3 separate regions of the Homo sapiens genome follow, and regions 2 and 3 are each linked to region 1. Evidence: promoter capture Hi-C in human tissues and cell types (Jung and others, 2019). All regions are on one chromosome and are shown on one strand. The core of a region is centred on a gene start or on the middle of the fragment in contact, and the rest is flanking DNA. Distances in the headings are between cores, read along the strand shown.

The links. The method cuts DNA at HindIII sites, captures the fragments that hold promoters and counts their contacts. A contact is called where the count stands out against the background at its distance.
Region 2: a fragment that was not itself captured here is called in contact with the fragment with the promoter of A3GALT2 in region 1 in 3 of the 25 tissues and cell types used here (adrenal gland, hippocampus and liver).
Region 3: a fragment that was not itself captured here is called in contact with the fragment with the promoter of A3GALT2 in region 1 in 4 of the 25 tissues and cell types used here (H1 embryonic stem cells, IMR-90 fibroblasts, dorsolateral prefrontal cortex and 1 more).

Annotation. Positions count from the first base shown.
Region 1 is chr1:33,319,408-33,323,662 of GRCh38, reverse strand. It overlaps A3GALT2 (alpha 1,3-galactosyltransferase 2), which reads left to right and starts at 2,565. Exons shown (of 5, transcript NM_001080438.1): 1 at 2,565-2,587. The coding sequence starts at 2,565. PHC2 (polyhomeotic homolog 2) reads left to right here. Exons shown (of 15, transcript NM_001385109.1): 15 at 1-37. The HindIII fragment of the contact is 15,797 bases long and covers 1-4,255 here.
Region 2 is chr1:33,215,156-33,219,410 of GRCh38, reverse strand. It overlaps a transcript of ZNF362 not described here. Among named protein-coding and RNA genes, the nearest start is that of TRIM62, 35 kb to the right of the region's middle. RefSeq lists an enhancer at 1-3. The HindIII fragment of the contact is 7,640 bases long and covers 1-4,255 here.
Region 3 is chr1:33,422,030-33,426,284 of GRCh38, reverse strand. The region is part of intron 1 of PHC2 (polyhomeotic homolog 2); the gene reads left to right. Among named protein-coding and RNA genes, the nearest start is that of PHC2, 6.9 kb to the left of the region's middle. The HindIII fragment of the contact is 3,548 bases long and covers 483-4,030 here.

The sequences.
Region 1 (4,255 bases), core at 1,316-3,815:
TTTGTTTTGTTTTTTAAAAATAAATCTGTAAAATCTGTCTCTTTGGTGCCTTTCTCCCCTAGGAATGCCTGTCTCTGGGCCCAAATGGCTACTTTTCACCCATACAGACAGGTGGGTCCCTGGGCTGGGGAAGGGACCTTAAGTGGATGGCATATCCTCCACACTTTTCTGGAGCTGGGTCATTTGAGGGTGCCCTCAGCTGCAGTTCACACGGTAGATACCAGCTTTCTTCACACGGTGTCCCTTGGAGTGAGAGGGTCCAGAAGCCCTTTCTGCTCTGCGCCCCCCTACCCGCCATTCCCACTTGGGAGATGATGACTGTTGGGCTAGCAGCCTCTGGACACCTGGGGCAGAACCCAGACTCTCCCATCTTCCAGCACACACCTCTCGATAGAGCTGCACAGCATCCAGAATAGCCTTGGGATGGCTTTGGTTCACTGAGCACTTTTGCATGCTCAAATAGAAAATGATTAGGGCAGAGATGAGGCATCTAAGCCTTGAATAAAGAAGGAGAAAGGGCATTCCAGACCGAGGCATAAGTGCAAAGGCACAAGCATGAACGTGGAAGTGCAAATGAGAGGCAGGTGAGCTGGCTGGATTAGACGTGTGTGCTGCTAACCGTGACCTGTGTTGACCACATGCCTCTGAACCAGGCACTGTGCTAGAAATGAGACTGGGGTGAAGCACAGAATAACCATGTGCCCTCTTGCGTGGAGTGAAATCTACCCCACATCTATGGGGGGAGGGGAAAAAGAGGCAGCTTGGCCTTACTGCTCCTCCCCCTTCATCAGGTTTTTCCCTAAGGGACCATTTCTACCTGTTAAAAATTTAGGTTATGGCTGCTCACATCTGTAAACCCAGCACTTTGGGGAGGCCGATGTGGGAGGATTGCTTGAGGCCAGGAGTTTGAGACCAACCTGGGCAACATAGAGAGACCCCATATCTACAAAAAAATACCAAAAAATGGCAAGGTGGTGCATACCTGTAATCCCAGCTATTCTGGAGGCTGAGGTCGATCACTTGAGCCCAAGAGTTCAAGGCTGCAGTGAGCTATGATTGCACCACTGCACCCCCAACCCAGGTGACAGACAAAAACCCTATTTTTTTTTAAAAAAAAAGCAGGGGTGGGGGTGGTTTGAGGGTCAGGCCACAACCTACTGAATCACAGTCTCTAAAGGACAATTACTTACTTGAAAGTAACTTTCAAGAACCAACACTCACATCTTAATAACTCCTCTTTGGAAAGCCTATTAAAATGGAACTGTCTTGGAGGAGAAACACACTGATTAGTTGATCCCCAGGGGGTAGAACTAGGGACTGGAAAGCCTGTCCCAGGAGGCAGGGAATGGCTGGCAGGACCCTGAGCTGACGGGAGGAGGAGGATGCTGAGATTGGGGAGTGAGCCCTGGGGAGCCCCCAGGCAAGAACGAACGCCCCATGTGCTGCCGCCTCTCCTGCTGCTGGAGTGCAGGCCACGTGCGCAGGTGCACCACTGGCCTATAGGACTCTGGGCAGTTCTTTTCACTTTCTGGACCTTAATTTTCCCTTTATGGAAGAAAATGAAAACCAGGCCCCACCTGAGTTTGTTGTGTGTAGCAAAGAGGGAGGGAACCAAACCTACTCCTAAAAGAAGATGTGGTGAATTTGATTCACACCAATAAGTATCCATCTTCTTTAGATGAAAAGCTCCAACCTGCTGCAAGTTTGCAGGGTGCACCTGCAATAGGCATTTGCTATTCCTGTTGTTTACACTTCACACTGAATTTCACAGACCTATTTCCATCATGATCCACAATTTAAAGAAATATTTCCCAAACTTGTATACACATTTCAATATCTATCAACTGAAACAAACATTTCATGAAACAAAACCTACCCTTACGTACAATATAGAATATTTTCCATTGTATTCCTGTTCGTATTTTAAAAATCTTGGTCACGACCCACTAAACTCATTACACGGCCTTCAGATAGGTCACAACTGGAACTTTAAAAAGCACTGCCCAGAGTAAATCACAACGGTTCAACATCCACGAATTTACATGGTTCTCTCTCCTGGGTGACTGGTGTATGTACTGGTGTACATTCTACTGAGAAGGTAAAGGGCTCCACTAGGTGAACTGTCCAAGGTCACAGGTGCCGAGTGCCCTTCAGATCTGGCTGAGGCTCTGTGCAGAACGGCTTTTCCTGCGTGGCAAACACCATACCTTGATTGCCAGCTGTTCCCAAGAACCAAAGACACTTCCCCTGGGGAGGGAAGAGGAGTCTGTACAAAATGACAGAGCCTCCAGCCAACCAGAACTGGCCTACTCAGACCCACCCTCTTCCAGGTGATTGGCCCCAAAAGGGTTGCCAGCCCCACTCCACCTTGGGGCCAGCTTCCCCCAAAAGGTTGCATCCCCGGCAGGTCCCTCGCAGGCAGTCCATCCTGACTGCTCCTGTGGGTGCAGCTCCTCAGGTAAAGGGGGAGGAGCTGCTTGTTCCAGATCTCCAGGAGCAGGCCATTTCTTCCCCAGCTCTAAGCTGGGAAAGTTTGCTCCAGGCCATCCTACCTGCTTCCCCATATGGCTCTCAAGGAGGGACTCAGGTGAGGGGGGACAATGGTATGGAGAGGAAGAAAGCTTGGGGACAGCTGAGCTAAGAGGGATCCAGTCTGATGGCTAAAACAGTACCAAGGGGAGGCACCAGAGTGAGCCCAGGAGTACCAGCTGAGCCTCCAGTCCTGGGGAAAGGTGGCTCCGAGAGGGGACATTGCCCCAGGAGAAGAAAGACAATCCGTGTGCATGGACACCGGGGTGGGGGAGGTTGTATTCCACAAGATTTTGTAGCCAATGAAAAGCTGGACTCCCCTTGCTTCCCTTAACTCTAAACCCCCTTGGCGAGCCGGAAAGCAGAGACCCGGGGGTACATTCCCTCCCCGACTGTAACTGAGAGCTCCCTCTATCCCCACTGGGACTGATGGTCCAGGACTAGGAACCTGTGCCCCCTTAAGACCTAATGGCTGATCTTTAACCCTTTCTTGAAGCCAACGAGAGTGGGGAGCAGGGCACAGGGTGGAGCTTGAGGGACCACCTTCTGCAGGTAGAACCTGAACAAGAAATGTGGAGGAGTGGACTGATCAGGGGCCTCCACAGACCACGGGCTCCCAGGCTGGGGCATAGGAGGGGCAGGAGGAGCTGGTGGGTCCCACCCAGTCCTGGGTCTCAGCACCCTCCCAGGCCTGACCACAGGAGTTCACAAGACCAACTCTGCCTGTGTGCCCTGGCTGAGGCCCAGAGCCCAGAATAAGCATCGGTTTGCCCTACCCTGGTTGGGAGGAGGCTGGTGAAGAGGGTGGGACAGCCACAGAGGGGGAGAAAGCCCCTCCAGCCTTTTCCTGCTCCTGTAGTACCTTACGCAGTACCTCGCACACCTCCCACAGTGCACCTCCCGAGGCAGCCTTGCCAGCTCCCAGTACGGGGTTTGACCAGGCTTCTAGGAACCAGAGAAGCCCAGCTGCAGCCAGCCCTCCAGGAGCTCAGACAGGAGCTGAATAGAGTGCGAAGGGAAGAAGCCAAGCCCACGGGGAGAAATAACAGGGCCGAGAACCTTGTGAGATGAGCCTCAGGGCTGAGCTAGGCCCAGGTCAAATGGAACCCAAATGCCATGCTGGAAGCTCTGGCTGGGGGATCGGGCAGTCCTACTCAAAGCCCAACCCCACCCATTACCCGCCGTGCAAATGCCTTGGTGTAAAGTGTAAACAGGAATGGCAAATGCCTACTGAAGGTGCACCCTGAAAACCTGCAGTAGGTTGGGGCTTTTCACCTAAAGAACACGGATACTTATTGGAGGAGAAACAAGCTGATTAGTTGATCCCCAGGGGGTAGAACTAGGGACTGGAAAGCCTGGTGCCCCAGGAGGCAGGGAATGACTGGCAGGACCCTGAGCTGACAGGGGAGGAGAGGATGCTGAGATTGGGGAGTGAGCCGTGGGGAGCCCCCAGGCAAGAACGAACGCCCCATGTGCTGCCTCCTCTCCTGCTGCTGGAGTGCAGGCCACGTGCGCAGGTGCACCACTGGCCTATAGGACTCTGGGCAGTTCTTTTCACTTTCTGGACCTTAATTTTCCCTTTATGGAAGAAAATGAAAACCAGGCCCCACCTGAGTTTGTTATATGTGTAGCAAAGAGGGAGGGAACCAAACCTACTCCTAAAAGAAGATGTGGTGCATCTGATTCACACCAATGAGGCCGCCCAGCCTTGCAGAGGTGAGCTGTC
Region 2 (4,255 bases), core at 544-3,043, 100 kb after region 1:
ATCAAACATGTGGGCAGGCTTGAGACAGCAGGAGCCAACTTGTCTCTGGTCCGCCGATGAATGAATGGCGGGCAGAGGTTGGGAAGTGGGCTGGGCAGGCCCACTGTGGGCTCACACTCACTGAGCGCCAACCGTACACTTTACCGTCATCATACCCAGTGAAGGTGGGTACCACTGGACCCATTTCACAGATGGGGAAATTGAGGGTACAGAGGTCATGAATGTCACACCCAGCCCCCAGCCAGGAGATGACAGAGTTGGATTTTGAACTCCAGTCTAACTTCAGAGCCTGATTCTCTTCAATGTTTAGAGGTTATCTCTAGAGACTAAGGGGAAATAATTTGTGTTTGGGGCCCTTAAGGGTCAGTGAATCAAGTGGCTTCCTGAGAAAGGAAGGAAGTCTCTTGCGGGGGGGCAGGGGGTGGTGTATGTGTGTGTGTGTGTGTGTGTGTGTGTGTGTGTGTGTGTGTGTGTGTGTATGTCCAGCTCCTGGGCAGACCTGTGCGTCCAGCCTGAAAGTGAATGTTGCTGCCACTGCTGCCCTCCACTGACCAGAGGCAGAACTGTTCCAATCTCTTGGGAATCTGACTTCACAGGGGACTACATTGCCCAACTCCACGGACCCTGAGAAACCAGATGGGTTAAGGTTAAATCCCTAATATACAAAGAGTTCTTAAAAAGCAATAAGAAACAAACAAATTTAATCCAACAGAAAAAAATAGACAAAGGACATAAACAGGCCATTTCACAAAAGAAAACATCCAAATAGCCAATAAGCAGATGATCAATTTCACTAATAACCAAATAAATGATAATAAAAACAATAATGACAAGTTCACCTGTTAGATTACAAATTGACAATGCCTTCTTTTAGAAAGAGTGCTGAGAAACAGGCATTCATGTATTGTCAGTAGCAGTGAGATTGGTACTAGCTTTTTGGAGGGCAATATCAAAAATTTTAATATTCACATTTTTTTTTGAGACAGGGTCCAGGCTGGAGTGCAGTGGTGTGTGTAATCACAGGGCACTGCAGCCTCGACCTCCAGGGCTCAAGTCATCCTCCTGCCTCAGTTTCTCAAGTAGCGTGGACCATAGGCATACACCACCATGCCCAGCTAATTTTTAAATTTTTTGTAGAGGCAGTATCTCCCTATGTTGCCCAGGCTGATCTTGAACTCCTGAACTCGAGTGATCCTCCCACCTTGGCCTTCCAAAGTGCTGGATTATAGGCATAAGCTGCCATGCCCAGCCCCTACATTTTTCTACCTAACTGTTCTGCATCTAGAAATTTATCCTAAAAATGCAAAAGAATATATGTTTAAAGGTGTTTGCTGCTACAGTGTTTATGGTCCATCTATGGACTATAGAGAAAAATAGGGAGCCACTAAAAATAAAGACGTAACTGGATTCTGCTCATGTTCATGCTGATCACGTTTATACATTTATGTAAATTGTATATTTGTATGTGAGTATGTAATCAAAGTAAAACTTTGACAGTAATAAGATAAATATATTTTTTACATAGATATCCATGACATATTATGGAGTGAAAAACTGAGATTGCACCATAGTTAAAATACTATGATCCAGTTTACATAAAGTTGTGGGTGTGTGTTTGTGTGTGTGTGTGAACATAAGGAGTTATCTTGGAAGACTGTTACCAAAATCTTAATGGTGGCTACCTTTGTATAATAAGATTTCACTTAAATTTTACTTTCTCCTGTATACTTCTCTTATGGTTTAAATTTCTTTTTAATGAGTCTATATTATTTTAATAATGAAAACAATAAAGTTGTTTTCATTCTGAAGAAAGAGAACAGTCAGAAGATCTTGCTTCCCCAGGTGGGGGAGCCCAGTGGTAGGATGGGGGTGGCCCTGCTAGGACAGCAAGCTGGTGGTTGGGATATTAAGGTGGGGTGCAGAGATCTGGAGCTGCATCTGACCCAGTGTAAAGTTGCCTGGAATGAGTCCTAGATGGTCAGAGAGGAAAACGCCTGCTGGTCTAACACCCTCTGTGTGAGGCAGGAGTGACAGATTACATGGCTCAGATTGGGCAAGGGAATTGGCCAAGGTTACACAGTGAGCTAGTGCTGAATTGGGCACCAAAACCCAGGCCTTCAGACCCTAGGCCAGGGCTCCTTCCTCACTGCTCTCACTTCATAAGGTGGATCTGAAGGTCAGAAGTTAGATCAGGTTAGGCAGCAGGTTTCCACTGAGATGGTGCTGTTACTGATTTGCTGGGAGTACAATTATCTCCAATTTAGCCTCCTTAGCACTGAGCCAGGAAGTCATTGCTCCCTGGGAACATCTTTGTGCCACGTGCCTGTTCCTGATGCTGAGCTGGAAGCTGGGTTGTAAGGGATGGATGGTGGCCTCTCTCCATCCCCAGTCTTCCTGCCTCCAGAACCGCCTCAGCAATTCATTCTCTACACCACCCTAGGGGGATTCCCTGAAAACTCTACTCCCACGCGTCGCCTCTGCTTGGAAAAGCTCTCTGTGGTTCCCCACCGCCCTTATTCAAGGCCTTCAGTGATGTGAACCCACCCTCCATTTGCAGCCCTTGCCCAGCCCCTCCAGCCACCTGCACAGGGGGCCCATCCTATGTGCTGACTCTACCAAGTCTTTTTACCTTCCTGTACCTTGGCTCATGCAACTCTTTCTATTTATTATTATATTCCTGCCTTCTATAAGTGCGAAGCTTTTGATCCTTCTTTAAAATCATCCTAAATAAATGTTCTTTCCTCCAGGAAGCCTTCTTTGACTCCCAGAGGAATTTTTTTTTTCCTGTTTCTTTTTTTTTTTTTTTTTTTTGAGACAGAGTCTTGCTCTGTGGCCCACGCTGGAGTGCAATGGCACAATCTCGGCTCACTGCAACCTCTGCCTCCTGGGTTCAAGGGATTCTCCTGTCTCAGCCTCCTGAGTAGCTGGGATTACAGGCGCCTGCCACCACGCCTGGCTAATTTTTGTATTTTTAGTAGAGATGGGGTTTCACCATGTTGGTCAGTCTGGTCTCGAACTCCTGACCTCATGATCTGCCCGCTTCAGCCTCCCAAAATGCTGGGATTACAGGTATAAGCCATCGCGCCCGGCCCTTTTTTCTGTTTCTTAAGAGCATACTTTATTCATCTTTGTACCGTCTGTGGCTAGCCCTGTGCTTAGCATACAGTGAGCAGACAAGAGATGCTGGTCAAATGAAGAGTCAACTGCATTTAATTAAACTGTCTCATTTTCCCCTCCTCTCCCACCCCTTTTACTTTAGAATGCAAGGGATGGAAAAACTCTCTAAACTTTTTCAGAGGAGAAGAATATAGGAGGTCTTACATTTCACTTTCAGTATAAGTACAGCACTGGTCTTAGAGTTAAAGTATTATGGAAACGTTTGTTTTTATAAATATATCACAGGTTGGAGATACTGACATATAATAAGATAAAATTATTAGCCCAAGGTTTAGTTGGCAACACCTTGACTGTATTTACTTTTATAATCATGAGAAACATTGCTTCAAACCATGTTTGTTATACATAATAAGCATATATAGGCCCCTGGTTTATGGCAGAAAACCTTTTTCAAAAAATTCGTGACATTAAGAAAACATTACAAGCATCAGCATATTCCTATATATGTGTGCTCAATTTCAAAATTTATTTGAGGATTTGTAGAAAATATCACTCTGAATGTGACTGTGAACTTCATTTTTGCAACACTACCAGGGTACAGAATTTTTATATTGATTTTTAAATTTTTAAAAAATGTTAGTGACTATGGATACTCCATATTCATGGAGTACATAGGGCAATGTACTGATCCAGGCACTCAATGTGTAATAATCACATCAGGGTAATCAGGGTATCCATTGCCTCGAGCATTTATCATTTCTTTGTGTTAGGAACATTCCAATATCACTCTTTTAGTTATTTTTAAATATACAATAAATTACTGTTGACCATAGTCACTCTGTTGTGCTATCAAATACTAAAATACTAGGATATTATTCATTCTATATAAGTATATTTTTGTGCCCATTAACCATTCTCCCCTACCCCACCCTACCCCAAGCTTCCTTCTCAGCCTTTGGTGACCATCATTCTACTCTCTATCTTCATGAGTTCAATTGTTTTAATTTTTAGCTCCCACATATAAGTGAGAACATGAGAAATTTGTCTTTCTGTGCCTGGCTTATTTCACTTACATAATGTCTTCCAGTTCCATCCATGTTGTTGCAAATGACAGAATTTAATTATTTTTATGGATGAA
Region 3 (4,255 bases), core at 1,007-3,506, 100 kb before region 1:
TCTGGAATGCTTCTGTTCTGTCCTGCCTTTGTTGCTTACTCTGTTCCTTCATCTACCCACATGAATCATGAAAAACAGAAACTTCTATTTTCTCTCATTTTTGGCTTTAGGAAAGAAATAGGAAAGTGATTAGTGAACTGAGAACCAATTAGGTTTTTCTGGGTTTCATGGTTATGGTTCTCTCAGAAACAATTTTTACTCATCCTCTTGCTCCTCTCACTTCTGGTCTCTCTGAGTAATGATTTGACCAAGTCCTGACATCACTTGACACTTACCACTTGACCAAGTCCTACGCCAACCAACCTGGATTCCTTTGTGGGGGAAATCAGACAAGACTGAGATTGTGTTGCCTCCTCCCATTACCTGTCTCATCCCCGTTCAGAGTGTTTGTTCTCATTTTCTATGCCCAACATGGACCAGGTAAGCCTAAGAAAACGTGAGAAGAAAAATATGAAGAGATGTCCAATATAAACTGCAGTATACATCATGAAACACAGTTTACATGGCTGGGCTGGGTCTTCTCCATAGTCTCCTAGTTATGCTGTGGCATGGTCTCCATAAGGCACTGTAGTAGTTATCCACTGCTGTGTAACAAATTACCCCAACATTTACCAGCTTAAAACAAAATTTTCTACTTATCTTTTAAGACTCAATTCAAGCATTACCTCTCAGAAGGCATTTCCCAGCTTGCTTTTTAAGAATTAGTAATCTTCCTCTTTGATATTTCTTCGTACTTCAGCATCTCATTATAGCATTTACCACATTGTTATAATTGCTAGGGACCATGTCTTTTTCATACCCTTAACTTCAGTTCCTAAAACTATTTCTTGAATGTCACAGATGCTCAGTAAATGGTTGTTAAAAGAGCTTAAGAATAACTCATACCTTTATCGGCTTTCACTTTATTCTTTATAAAACGTAGGTATATTGCAAAGTATCCAGCCTTGTTTCCTGTGATAGGCTCATATATCGTTGTTGAAGGTTAAATGTAAAGAAACGTTGTATATGTCCAAGACTGCTTGACTTGCCAACTTATCTACTCCAGTGAAGACTTCTTGAATTTATCTTTATCTATAGGTCTCTGTGCCATTCCTAGTCTGAAACCAATTCTGGCCCTTATAGGAAATTATACAGTGAGCACCCCTAGTCCAAAGATACTTGGTTCAATAATAAAATCAACATTTGTTCACTATTCAGATATTTGACTCTTAAATTTTATGAGGGTACATCTGTGTCTGGCTTATTCACTGCTCTTTTCCCGACACCATGCCCTAGTAGCTGCACAGCAAATACTTAGTGAATGAATTAATGAAACTCAATTCTTGATAATTCATGTCCCATTCCTGTTATCCAGGTCCTGACCTCTGATCACCCAGAATCTTAGGCCTGATTCATCATTTCATGTGACCCAGACTTTTTGTTTTGGTCCTTGACTTTTATCTTCCAGGGCCTTATTATGGCTGGATAAGAATCTGACTCCTTGCTTACTCAGAACTAAAGTATCTCTTTGTTTCTTGATCGTCCTAACTAATAATATAGGCCAGATGCCCTTAGAAAAATATTATTTTCTCTACCTGAAGCCAGAAACATTCCGAATACATATTAAATGTATTTAAAAATATTTAAACTGAAGATAATTACATTCAAATTTCTAAAGAAAGTGAACAGGCCCTTTGAGAAACAAGTTTTGGGCAGAGACCAGCGTCTAAAATTTTGTGAGTCTATTAGAATGATTAACTTGTAAGCTTCAGCAAATCAATGCAAATTAATTTTTATACCCACCAGTGAATCAAAGGAGGGGAGGGAATTGAGTGAGTGTGTAAATATGGTTGCTAGGGAAACTTTTCCTGACAGAAGAGAGAACCTCGCAGGAATTTTTACAGGCCCACAGAAGCAATGTAACCTGATCTTTCTCTGTTCTCTTTCTAATGGGGGAAGAAAAGATGTAGAAACCATGGGTACAGATAAAGGTGGCTTTAGACTTTTCAAGAGACTTGAGGAGTAAGTTCTCCAGAACAAATGATGACTATTATAAGGCACCCGTTCGTTTTAAGGAACCATCTGGAAATGAATCTATCTCTAAAATAGTATTAATGAATCAATCTCTATAATAGTATTAATTTACTCAACAAATATTCAGCACTTTCTTTTTTTTTGTTTTTTGTTTTTTTTGTTTTTTTTTTTTTTGAGACGGAGTCTCGTTCTGTCGACCTGGCTGGAGTGCAGTGGTGCAATCTTGGATCACTGCACCACCTCCGCCTCCCAGGTTCAAGCGATTCTCCTGCCTCAGCCTCCCGAATAGCAGGACTACAGGTGTGTGCCACCATGCCCGGCTAATTTTTGTATTTTTGGTAGAGATGTGGTTTCACCACGTTGTCCAGGGTGGTGTTGAACTCCTGACCTCGTGATCTGCCCTCCTCGGCCTCCCATAGTGCTGGGATTACAGGCATCAGTCATGTGCCCGGCCTTATTCAGCACTTTCTAAATAAAAAATATGTATTTTCATTGTCCAGAAGGAAATACAATTATAAGCAGTTGATAATTTGAAAGTACTGCATTACACCTAGTTCTTCCAAGTTTTGCCCCAAATTAATTTTTTTAGTATAGGGTAATGTGAACTTAATTAAATATTTAATGCTGTTTCTAGAAATAAAATTCTGCTTCTGTACAAAAAGCTTAACAGGAGTGTATCTTCTGTTATTTCTATTCTTTGGTTGCTGCTCCTGAGAAAAAACTAATTCATTGGTCCATAAAGCCATACCCCAAAGTAGATGTTCATCTAGTGACAGTGTCATCTTAATTTTAGATATAGTACCAGTGTAGGACACATCCGTCTCCTTGATGGCTAAAATCATGAGATCCTTCTTATTTTAGCTGTACGGGATGGATGGTTTCAGGTCTTAAAATCTTGGCTGTAAAATGCATTTGGATTGAAATATGGAACACTGTCCCATATCTGAAGCCTACCATTCAGTGTCTCCATTCCTTCTCTTCCCACTTTTATTTTGTTTTCAGTTACAAATAAGGCTTGCATTTGTTTGAAAAAGTATATACTTTTTAAGCCCTTTAATACTTCAATGTGCTAGAGTTATGTTCCAAGCACAGTATCTTCCGCTGGCCTGCAGAGAGGCAGTTGGAGGTAAGGGTTCACTGCAGGGACACTAGAGCCATAATGCTGGGGTTCCAGCCTTGCCTCTGCCACTCATGAGCTGTGAACTTCCCAGCCGCCTTCCATCTGTACTCTCTCTGCTCTAGTCTTCTTGGGTATAGTGGGGGAGAATCACAGTCCCTACCTCGAAGAATTATAGAATTAAACAGGTTAATAATGTGAGGTACATAATAAGAATTGTGTAGGTTTTACCTTTCTTTATTTCCTGGGGCCTCCTAGATAGAATTGATATTTGAAGGAAGAGAAAGTTGAGATGTATAAAGGTATAATAACTTGCCTAAAGTATACAGTAAATTTAGGCTCAGACTATTCTCATTCTTAAATTACCAAGGAAGTTTTCCATTCCGCCTAGTAAGAGAGAGAGAAAATGAGAATTAGAATAAGAGGGCAGAACTTGGCTTTTAGGGCATTTTGAAATAGAGGTTACTTCACATAAGATGGTGACACTAAAGCCCGTGAAAATGAAATTGCTTTCTCAAAGGCAGAGTATTAGAAATGGTTTGGAATAATATAAGTAGGGAATGTGGTACTAGGTCAGGCCCATTGTATAACCAGCCAAAAATTTGGTTTCTGATCATGATAACAAAGCTCAGTTGGAAGGGTGTATTGTAGCTTCAAGCCATGACAAAATCTTCTGATTACAGGGATGGGCTTGCCCATCCTTTTAGTATCCTTCTGTCTTTGTTTACCTGAGTATTTAAGCTTTATTTCTATTTTTGGCCTCTACAATCATATTTATTTATTCAACAAACATTTAATAAGCTTCTATACCTCACTCTAGCAGCTGGGGGGATTCAAAGATGAGGAGAACCCAGGCCAGGTACTACAGAGGTTTCTAAAGAAAGAAAGACATGGAAACATTAATTATGGTATTGTACTTAGTACCATAATAGAAGTATGGTCCCTGCTTAGAAATGTTAGGAAAAGTTTTCTGGAGAAAGTGACAGGGTAAGAGGAAGCTTCTCAGCCAGACAGAAGCAATGTCTGCAAAGGTGAGGTTGTATTTGCTTGAGAGAACACATATGGGGGGACCTCCAAACAACCTTTCAAGACCACAGCAGAACATTTGAGGAGGGTCATTGCAGA